Regions from separate parts of the Homo sapiens genome. Here region 1 is linked to region 2. Evidence: promoter capture Hi-C in human tissues and cell types (Jung and others, 2019). All regions are on one chromosome and are shown on one strand. Each heading gives the region's core, a stretch centred on a gene start or on the middle of the fragment in contact. The rest is flanking DNA. Distances are from core to core; before and after follow the strand shown. Region 1 overlaps LOC105371293 (a long non-coding RNA gene). Region 2 holds the start of NDRG4 (NDRG family member 4).

Evidence for each region. Contacts are between HindIII fragments. The study calls those that stand out against the background at their distance.
Region 1: a contact is called between a fragment that was not itself captured here and the fragment with the promoter of NDRG4 in region 2, in 1 of the 25 tissues and cell types used here (aorta).

Annotation. Positions count from the first base shown.
Region 1 is chr16:58,241,087-58,245,967 of GRCh38, forward strand. It overlaps LOC105371293 (a long non-coding RNA gene), which reads right to left. Exons shown (of 4, transcript XR_933630.2): 3 at 1,684-1,823. Among named protein-coding and RNA genes, the nearest start is that of CFAP263, 6.4 kb to the right of the region's middle. RefSeq lists an enhancer at 2,422-2,481. The HindIII fragment of the contact is 3,325 bases long and covers 1-3,019 here.
Region 2 is chr16:58,496,869-58,501,551 of GRCh38, forward strand. NDRG4 (NDRG family member 4) reads left to right here and starts at 3,275. Exons shown (of 15, transcript NM_001242835.2): 1 at 3,275-3,401. The coding sequence starts at 3,381. It also overlaps the pseudogene RNU6-103P. RefSeq lists silencers at 3,104-3,183, 3,194-3,253 and enhancers at 3,133-3,949, 3,950-4,683. The HindIII fragment of the contact is 53,618 bases long and covers 1-4,683 here.

The DNA.
Region 1 (4,881 bases), core at 107-2,606, 260 kb before region 2:
TTTCGCTCTTGTTGCCAGGCTGGAATGCAATGGCGTGATCTCGGCTCACTGCAACTTCCGCCTCCCGGGTTCAAGTGATGTCCGCCACCACACCTGGCTAAATTTTGTGTTTTTAGTAGAGACAGGGTTTCACCATGTTGGCTAGGCTGGTTTTGAACTCCTGACCTCAAGTGATCTGCCCGCCTCAGCCTCCCAAAGTGCTGGGATTACCGGCATGAGCCACTGAGCCTGGCCTATTTGCTTATCTTTTAATTATTGAGTTGTAATAATAGTTCTTTATGTATCCTGGATATAAATCTCTCATCATATATATGATTTGCAATTTTTCTCTCATTCTGTGGATTGTCTTTTCACTTTCTTGATGGTGTTCTATGAAGCACAAAAGTTTTTAATAAGTCCAACTTATCTATTTTTTCTTTATTGCCTTGCTTCTATTTGTTCTTTTTGTTTATATTTCCCTTTTTCTGCCTTCTTTTGGATCCATTCGAATATTTTATAATTCCACTTTATCTCCTTTGTTGACTTAGCTGTATTAGTTTCATAGGCTATTGTGATATATTGCCACAAACTTTGTGGCTTAAAACAACACAAATTTATTCTCTTATAGTTCCAGAGGCCAGAAGTCCAAAATGGGTCTCACTCAGCAGGGCTGTATTTTCTCTAGAGGCTTAAGGGGAGAATTCTCCAGTTTTTAGAGCTTCATTCCTTGCATTCCTTGGCTCCTAGGCCCTCTCCTCCATCTTCAAAGTCCACAGCATAGCATCTTCAAGTCTCTCTCTGCTGAGGTTGTCACATTGCTTTCTCTCTTCTGTAGTAGAATCTCCTTCTGCCTCCCTCTTGTAAGGACACTTGTGATTGCTTTTAGGGCCCACTTACATAATCCAGGATAACCACTCCATTTTAAGACCTTTAACTTAATCGCTAAAATTGTTAAGACCTTTTCCCCCTTTACAAGGTAATATTCATAGGTTCCAATGATTAGAACCTGGATATCTTTGCGGGCCATTGTTCTGTCTACCACATTGTCTAGACATTCAGTCTAGAGTTAAAGCTACTCTTTTAGTTTTATGTCTTTGCTGTGTCATTTTTGTCATTGCTTTGGGGTTTATGGTACATTTCTTTAACTTAGTACAGTCTATCTTCAAGTGTTATTATACCACTTTATGTATAGTATAAGAACTTTATACCATCACACTCCCATTTCTCCTCTACTATCATTGTCATACATTTCACTTATAAACTCTACAATGTAAATGTTTTTTTTTTCTTTCTTTCTTTCTTTTGAGATGGAGTTTTTTGCTCTTGTCACCCTGGCTGGAATGCAATGGCCCGATCTGGGCTCACTGCAACCTCTGCCTCCTGGGTTCAAGCAATTCTCCTGCCTCAGACTCCCAAGTAGCTGAGATTACAGGTATGTGCCACCACGCCCGGCTAATTTCATATTTTTTTTAGTAGAGACAAGGTTTCACCATGTTGGTCAGGCTGATCTCAAACTCCTGACCTCAAGTGATCCACTGGCCTCTGCCTCCCAAAGTGCTGGGATTACAGGCATGAGCCACCGTGCTTAGCTACAATGTAAATGTTGTAAACTCTACAATACATAATTTTTGTTATATAAAGTTATTTATCTTTCAAAGAAAATTAAATAATGAGAGAAATATATTTACTTATCCACTTAGTTACCATTTCTAGTGCTCTTCATTTCTTTGTGTTGATCCAGATTTCCATCTGGTATCATCTTCTTTCTGCCTGAAGGACATCCTTTAACATATCTTGTATAGTGAAGCTCTTCTGGCAACAAATTCTTTCAAGCTTTTGAATATCTGAAAAAAATATTTATTTTGTCTTTATTTTTAAAAGATATTTTTGCTGTGTAAAGTATTCTAGTTTGACAGGTGTTTTTTTTTTTCTTTCAGAACTCTACCAGCTTGAATTGTTACCTACAAGAAATCTATCATTTTAATCCTTGATTCTTTGTATATACTGTGTCTTTTTTTTTTTTCCTGGCTGCTTCTAAGGTTTTCTGTTTATCCCTAGTTGTAAGCAATTTAGTTATGGTATCTTTGGTGTCATTTTCCTCATGTTTATTGTTATATGAGGTTGGTTGAACTTCTTAGATCTATAGGTTTGTAATTTTCATCAAATGTGGAAAAATTCAGCCATTATTTCTTCAAATATTTTTTCTGTCTCCTCCTCACTTCTGAAGACGAGCAGGATCAAGGAAAGACACTACAAAGGAAAATATCAAGAGAAGGCAGTACAAAGGAAAATGTACTAAGCTTCTTACATTTTAGAGATGCACATTTGCATAGTCAGGCCTTTAATCTAGGAAAATAATAACCCAGAGCTTGCTCCATGCCTGGTACCTGGTTAAATGTAATCTCAATGAACTCTTCCAACACCTTAGTGGGAATGGCTTTGGATGGATAGGAGAAGGACTGGGATGGAAAGGAATGAGTAATGATTAAAGGTACAAGCTTTCGGCTCTAGCTCTGCATGTCACCTGCTGTTTGACTGAGTAATTCACATCGCCTCTCTGGCTTTCACTTCCTCACCTATACAAATGAGGTGAGTAATAGTGTAACTGGCCAAGTCCAGCTGCTCACCGCTTGGAGGCCAAAAACACAAGAAGCAAGTTGTGGTGAAAGGAAAGCAACTTTATTCAAATGCTAGCAGTTGGGGAATGGACAGGCCCATGCCTCTGAAAGACCATTCTAACTTTTTGGGCTGAGTGAAGGGGTTTAAGAAGGAAAAAGGTGAGAGAAACGCGGGAGTGGTGCAGCAGGAGGTCTTGTTATCTTGAGTCATCGCCTGTCTGGAGGACCGGTTTGCATCATGCTGACTGCGGTAGTGGTGGGCTAACTGCTCCTAACTCCCCCTAATCAGAGGGTTCCACAGCTGGGTCTCTCTGCCTGGCTTGTTTCAAAATCGATCCCTGGAATTTCTAAGCAAGCACATAATTAGATAAGCGAGTACTGTTCATAGAAGTGGCTGGTGGGAAAAGGCAAAACAAAAAGTTTCAAAGTATGTTTCAAGGCTGGAAGCAAGAAGGGAAAAATGTTTTAAAACGCAGTTTGAGGCTGGGATACTTGGTTACAATAGTACTTATTTTACAGGGTTAGGGGACAAAGCACTCGAATGTTTGCTGTTATTACTATTATTTTTTTGTTTGCCAATATTTGAAATATCCCTCTTCCTTACTAACTCAATTCTTCCTTAACATCGATTAAAGCGATATATGTTGCTCAGCTGTGACAGACTCTACTGATTGAGGATTGAGCCAGGGTCTGTTTATTTCCTTTTTCAGATCCACGTCTCTGGAGCTATCCCTGGGATATGGAGGTTTTCAGGATTAATAACTGGATGAGATACCAGCTCAGATCAGCCTCAGTCTCCTTTTCCCATCTTGCTTTTCTCCCCTCCTCTTCTCCACTCTGTTGCCTCTGGATTTTCCAGGGTAGAGCCCGAGAGCACAAGGGGAGACGTTAAGAGGCAGAGGAGGTCTCACATGACAGCAGTGATTTCGGACTTATGCTCTTGTGACCAGCTTGTGCCCCAAAGCTTCTCACTCCCAAGGCCTACTGTGGGTTCCCTAATGATTCTCCCACTGATGAATCCCACTGATTCCCTGATCCCACAGTGTTTTTTCTTAAGATTCCTCTTGATCTTCTGCATTTTATGATATGCCTCCAGCCTCTTTCTGTGGAGACATCTGACTTGTGAAAATCCTTTATCTTGCCCCATCTTGGTGTCAGAGCAGTCTGCTCCCTGGGAGCCCTTGCCCCTGCCTCCCACTTAGATGTACATATCCCTCCAGCCTCTACTTTTAACTTCTTGGGGCATGAGGCAGATGTCAGCCCCTTGCCCCCAAACTCCAGAGCCTCAATAAGCTCATCTGGTGACAGTCTGGAGACCCCTCATTTGGTATGTGAAACCCCTCCTGTAGTAACCCCTCCTATGCCTTTCCTTACAGAGAAAGTCCACAGTACTAGGACAGCTGTCGCCAAAGGAATTGTCACTTCTCAATGGTGTACCAAGAGCAGGGCAGTGGGAGGTTCTACCTACGGTGTAGGAAATAATTTAGAATTGCAAAGTCCGTAAAGACCTTTAAAACAATAATAAAATCAACCAAAAGTTGGTCTTTTAAAAATTGTTACTGGGTGCTGGCAATTCTAAACAATGACAGCAACAAAATTCTCCTGCCCCTAAAAATCATGTGTGGGTCTAAGTCCTAAATAACTGCTACAGTTAATGTTGAGCTTTTATGATACACATTTTGGCTTCAAATTGGCATATTTCGATTCAGAGAACTCCTTGCTATACAATCATCCCCTGAAACTCACAGACTCAGTTACACTCATTTATTTTGTGAATAAGTTTCTATAGGTTTGGAAAAGTTTGGGCTTGTTTTGGGTAAAGTTCTCATCTCCAGCTCCTGTGGTATAATATATTCTTGCATTTGAACAATGGTTCAAAATAAGTGATGATAGTGCAGTGATTGCAAAGACAAAGAAATGGAACTTGAGTTACTTCAGTTTTGTTATTCCGTGTGACTTTTTTGGAATTTTAATTTGTGTTTAAAAGCTAAGGCAGTGGCCGGGCGCGGTGGCTCACACCTGCAATCCTAGCAGTTTGGTAGGCCAAGGCAGGCAGATCACGAGGTCAGGAGTTCGAGATCAGCCTGATCAACATGGTGAAACCCCGTCTCTACTAAAAATACAAAAATTAGCTGGGTGTGGTGGCATGTGCCTGTAATCTCAGCTACTCAGGAGGCTGAGGCAGGAGAATCGCTTGAACCAGGGAGGCAGAGGTTGCAGTGAGCCTAGATGGCACCATTATATTCCAGCCTGGGCAACAGAGTGAGACTCCATCTCACAAAAT
Region 2 (4,683 bases), core at 2,025-4,524:
TTGCCTCATTTGTAAAGAGGGTATTAAGAGAGAAAATGAGTGCTCGCCCCAGCAGCACATATACCAAAATTGGAATGATACAGAGAAGATGAGCACGACCCCTGTACAAGAATGACCCACATATTCGTGAAGCCTTCCATACTTAAAAATATTTTCCAAAAAGAGGATAAAGGCTGGGTGTGGTGACTCATACCTGTAATCTCAGCACTTTCGGAGGCTGAGGCAGGTGCATCACTTGAGGTCAGGAGTTTGAGGCCAGCCTTGCCAATATAGTGAAACCCCATCTCTACTAAAAATACAATAATTAGCCAGGTGTGGTGGCAGGCGCTGGTAGTCCCAGCTACTTGGGAGGCTGAGGCAGGAGAATGGCTTGAACCCGGGAGGCGGAGGTTGCAGTGAGCAGAGATTGCACCATTGCACTCCAGCCTGGGCAACAGAGCAAGACCATGTCTCCAAAAAAAGAAGAAGAAGAAAAAAAAAGAGGGATAGAGAGAATGGGTAAAGCACTCCAAGAAAGCCTGGCACATGGAGGACATTTGAACATAGTGTTTGCCACTCTTGATTCTGAGACCTCAGGCCCACCCAGAGTGCTGGGGTACTAGTAGCTGCCGCTGCTTACTAGCCAAGTGAGGAAATTACCTAACCTCTCCAACTCTCAGTTTCCTCATCCCTTCTCATAGGTCCATGAGGATTATATGTATTATCCTTGCAGCTGCCTGTGCAGTAGGCACTGCTGTTTCTCCCATTTACATACGGAGGCTCAGAGAGGTTGATTGACTTCCCCAAGGTCACACAGCAAAGAAGTGGCAGAGCTATGAGTGGCACCAGGGTTTGGCTGGCAAGACCTGGGTTTGGCTGGCAAGACCTGAGCCTGCCTTGTCTGGCCACTGTAACTGCACAACCACCAGAAAAAGGGCCAACAATTTGGAGAGGCACACAGGCTGCCTCATTTCTCCCCTGCCAGGACCTGGGCAGGGGTGGGGTCAGATCTAGAGTGATTTCTGCAGTTTTTTCTGATTCTCACAGCAGCTTGGTGAGAAAGGCACACAGTCCCTGCTTTACAATTAGAAGCCTGAGACACAGAGAGGTTAAAAAAAAAATCTTGCCCAAGGTCACCCGGCTGGTAGGGGGCCAGGAAGGACTTAAACCCACGTCTGTGGGTTTGCAGACAGCTGAGCAGTCATGGAGGCTGTGGCTTGGAGTGGGCAGTGTCGCAGGTCAGCTTGTCACCTGGGTCCAAAGGTGGGGAGAGGCCACTCAGGGGTCAGAGGTTGGAGTGGGCGTAGGATTGGGTGGGGCCTTGGGGGACATGGGAGGGCATTGTGGGCAGAGGGCAGGGCTGTGCCTCAGTTTTCCAAGCCTCTTCCTGTGCCACAGTGCCTGCAGGAATGGGGAGCATGGCCAGGAGGTGACGGGCCAGGGGGACTCCCCATTCTACTTCCTGCTGCCCTGGGGAGCACAGGGCCTGTCAGTCTTCCCTAGGCCTCCAGAGTAAGAGGTGAGAGATGGAATAGGTGCCCCCAGGCAGAGGACATGACCAGCAATAGTGTACATAGCAGGTGTCGACCAGGTCAGCAGGTACCCAGAGATGAAGAGATGACCACTTTCTCCAAGGGCAGCCAGTCAGCATGCAGGGCCATCAGCATGGGCTGGGGTGAGTGGCGTGTTCCTTCTTCAGCAAGACAGGGAGAGGAAGCCGGATAGGAGGCAGCTACTGACGTTGACATGCCCACCTCCTGTAGACCCACCCGGCCCTTGTTCCTGGAGGCAACCAGTTTGGGGCTTGGCTCTCGGGTATCTGGGGAGCAGGACACTAGGGCTATCTCAGGCTCTGTGCCCTGACCCCACCCTTGCCCAGGCCCTGGCAGGAGAGAAATGGGGCAGTCTGTGTGCCTCTCCAAACTGTTGGCCCCTTTTCTGGCAGTTGTGCAGTTATCGTGGCCAGACAAGGCAGGGTCAGGTCTTGCCAGCCAAACCCTGATCCCACTCATAGGTCTGCCACTTCTTTGCTGTGTGACCTTGGGCAAGTCAGTCAACCTCTCTGAGCCTCCATATATAAATGGGAGAAACAGCAGTGCCTACTGCACAGGCAGTTGCAACGATAATACATATAATCTTCATGGATTTGGGAGCATAGGCACGCAGCAGCCCCCTTCTCTCTGTGGCTCCTGCTCTCCCAGCCTTGGGCCCCCTCCTCTGCTTCCCTCTCTGGCCTATTTCCTCTCCTCCTGTGCACTTCTTGGCCTTTCTTCTCCTCTGCTCACTCCACCTGCAGGCCTCGGGCGAGCTCGCCACCCAGATCCTTGCTGCCCAGGAGAACAGGGCACGGAGCCTGAGATAGACCTAGTGTTCTGCTCCCCAGAGACCCGAGAGCCAAGCCCCAAACTGGTTGCCTCTGGGAACGAGGGCCGGGTGGGTCTACAGGAGGTGGGCATGTCAATGTCAGCAAGCTGCCTCCTAGCCCCGCTTCCTCTCCCTGGTGGTCTGGAGCCCCTGGCAGCAGGGTGAGGGTGGGGAGGGCAGAGCTGGTGTGTGCCTGACCATACCCCTGGCCCTGCTATCTGCCCAGGGCCCCTGGCCCCCGGCCCCCAAACTCCATTTTCAGCATGTGGGGAAACCCCCTGTATCTGCGTGGGCAAGGTGGGATTTTCATCCCTGGTGGGTGGAGAAGGAGCAGCCCCTTGAAGCAGGGTGATAACCCAAGTTGCCCCAGAAAGCAGCAGCTCCCCAGGCCTCCACAAGGTTAAGCGATGGAACCTTCCTAATGGGAAGGCTGGGCGTGGGGGTCTGGTCCCCAAGATGTTGGGCTTGGGGCCCTCTCGGGCCCTCCATACTCCCCAAGGTGTGGGTCAAGGGCTCTAGCTGTCTGGGCAGTGCCCATGCACCCTGCCCTGCCCCGCATTGGTAAGCTGTGCATGTCTGTGACGACCCTGTGTGTACCTGACATGGGTGAGTCTGTACGTGTGGTCTCGGCTTTTGTATTCGGAGGATCCCGTGTGAGCTGCAGCTGTTGGCGTGTGCCTATGTGCTGGGGGCGGATGCAGGGGCTGGGGACCATCAAGGATGATGTGTGGCTGGGGTGGGAGGAGCAGTGACAGGGCTGGGGCAAGGAGGACTTCAGAAGCCAATTGGAGCCAGGCTTGTCTCCCAGCAGCCAATATGGGAGCTGGGGCTCCTGGTAAGCGAGTGGCTGCTCAGAAACCCTGCGGGGAGGAGGGGCTAGCTAGGCTGGGCCAGGATCCCTGTATAAATGGCCCAGGAGCTGTGCCCCATCACAGAGCCGACCATCTCCCACTCGAGCTGCCCCCGCCCTCTGGACCCGAGTGACTCAGGCCTTTGTTTGTCCTTCCTGGTAGAGGCGGGTTCCCTCCCTCGGCAAGATGCCGGAGTGCTGGGATGGGGTGAGTGAGGGCGCTGCGGGCATCAAGGTGGGCCGGGAGGATGGTGCATCCTTATGACCCACCGCAGGGAGGAAGTGCCCCCCTCAACCCACATCTGGTGGCAGCCCGGCCTTCAAATAGCCTCACCCTGGGGTCACTGAGACACGGCCAGAGTGCTCCAGGTTCCCTGGTGATCCTGTTTGCAGGAGTGGCTGGGGGCAGCTGCTAGTCAGAGCCCATAGCAGGGGCTGGGGGGAGCGTGTGGTTGGGGGGTGGGTGACATATCTGCAGGAAATGGAACGTGGAAGGCACTGTCTGACTTGGCTGCATTGCCCGTGTGGACCCGGGCGCTAGTGCCTGCATGTCCCTCTGACCGTGTGCCCTCTGGTGTGCGCTTGGATGGTGTCTGCCTTGGTGATGCCTGGGGCCATCAGGCCAGGGGGCGGGGGTGTCCTTGGTGAGCCCCCGAGGCTGTGTGCCCAGTGTGCGTGCCGGGTCTGTGCGTGCAGGGGCTGCCGTCCCAGTGGGCGGCCGTCTAGCTTGTTTGGATGGCTGCGCCAGTGTGATGGGAAGGACAGGCGGCCTCTTCCTTAGGAGCCACCTCACAGTTCCCAGGGCTCTGCTGCGCCAGCCGGGCAGAGGCAAGGAGGTCTGGGCCACACAGGAATGACAGCCTTTCAGGCAGGGGTCCCTGCTGGGGAGGAACGAGGAGGGGTTGCCTGCCTGCCTTATTTTGTAGGTGGGGGAAGGCAACGCTGGAGCCGTGAAGCTGGCAGGGCTAGGGGACCCCAGGTGGAGCCCAGGGCACCTCCTCTCGCCGGGGCATCAGGTACCCCGGCCCCATTCTTCCTCAGGAGGGAGAGGCAGGGGCAGACTCACCCCCACCCCCGGGCCCCACACGCCTGCCCTGCCGGTTCCGCAGACGATAGGTCACCCCGCACGCACGGAGGTGACGACGTCAGCACCTGCCCGCCCATGCAGACCCTGTCCCCTGAATTATTGATGCGGCTGACAGGCCGAACCACAGCACCACCAGCACCAACTCCCACACCGGCGCAAAGCCCGGCTCAAAGCCCCACTCCCCTCCAGTGCTCAAGGTCACAGGCGAGGGGAGACGGACCGACCGAGAGGAGCCGCCACAGCCCCCTCCCCTGCTGCCGCAGTGCTTCCCGCCTGCGCCTACCTGGAGGCGGGGCCGGCTCTGACGTCACCCAGAGCCAATGGGAGTGCTCGGCCCTGAGGGTTGGGGGCCTCAGAGTGCACCGCGCTGTGGCCCTTGTGGGGCTGCCCTTGCGCAGCGCTC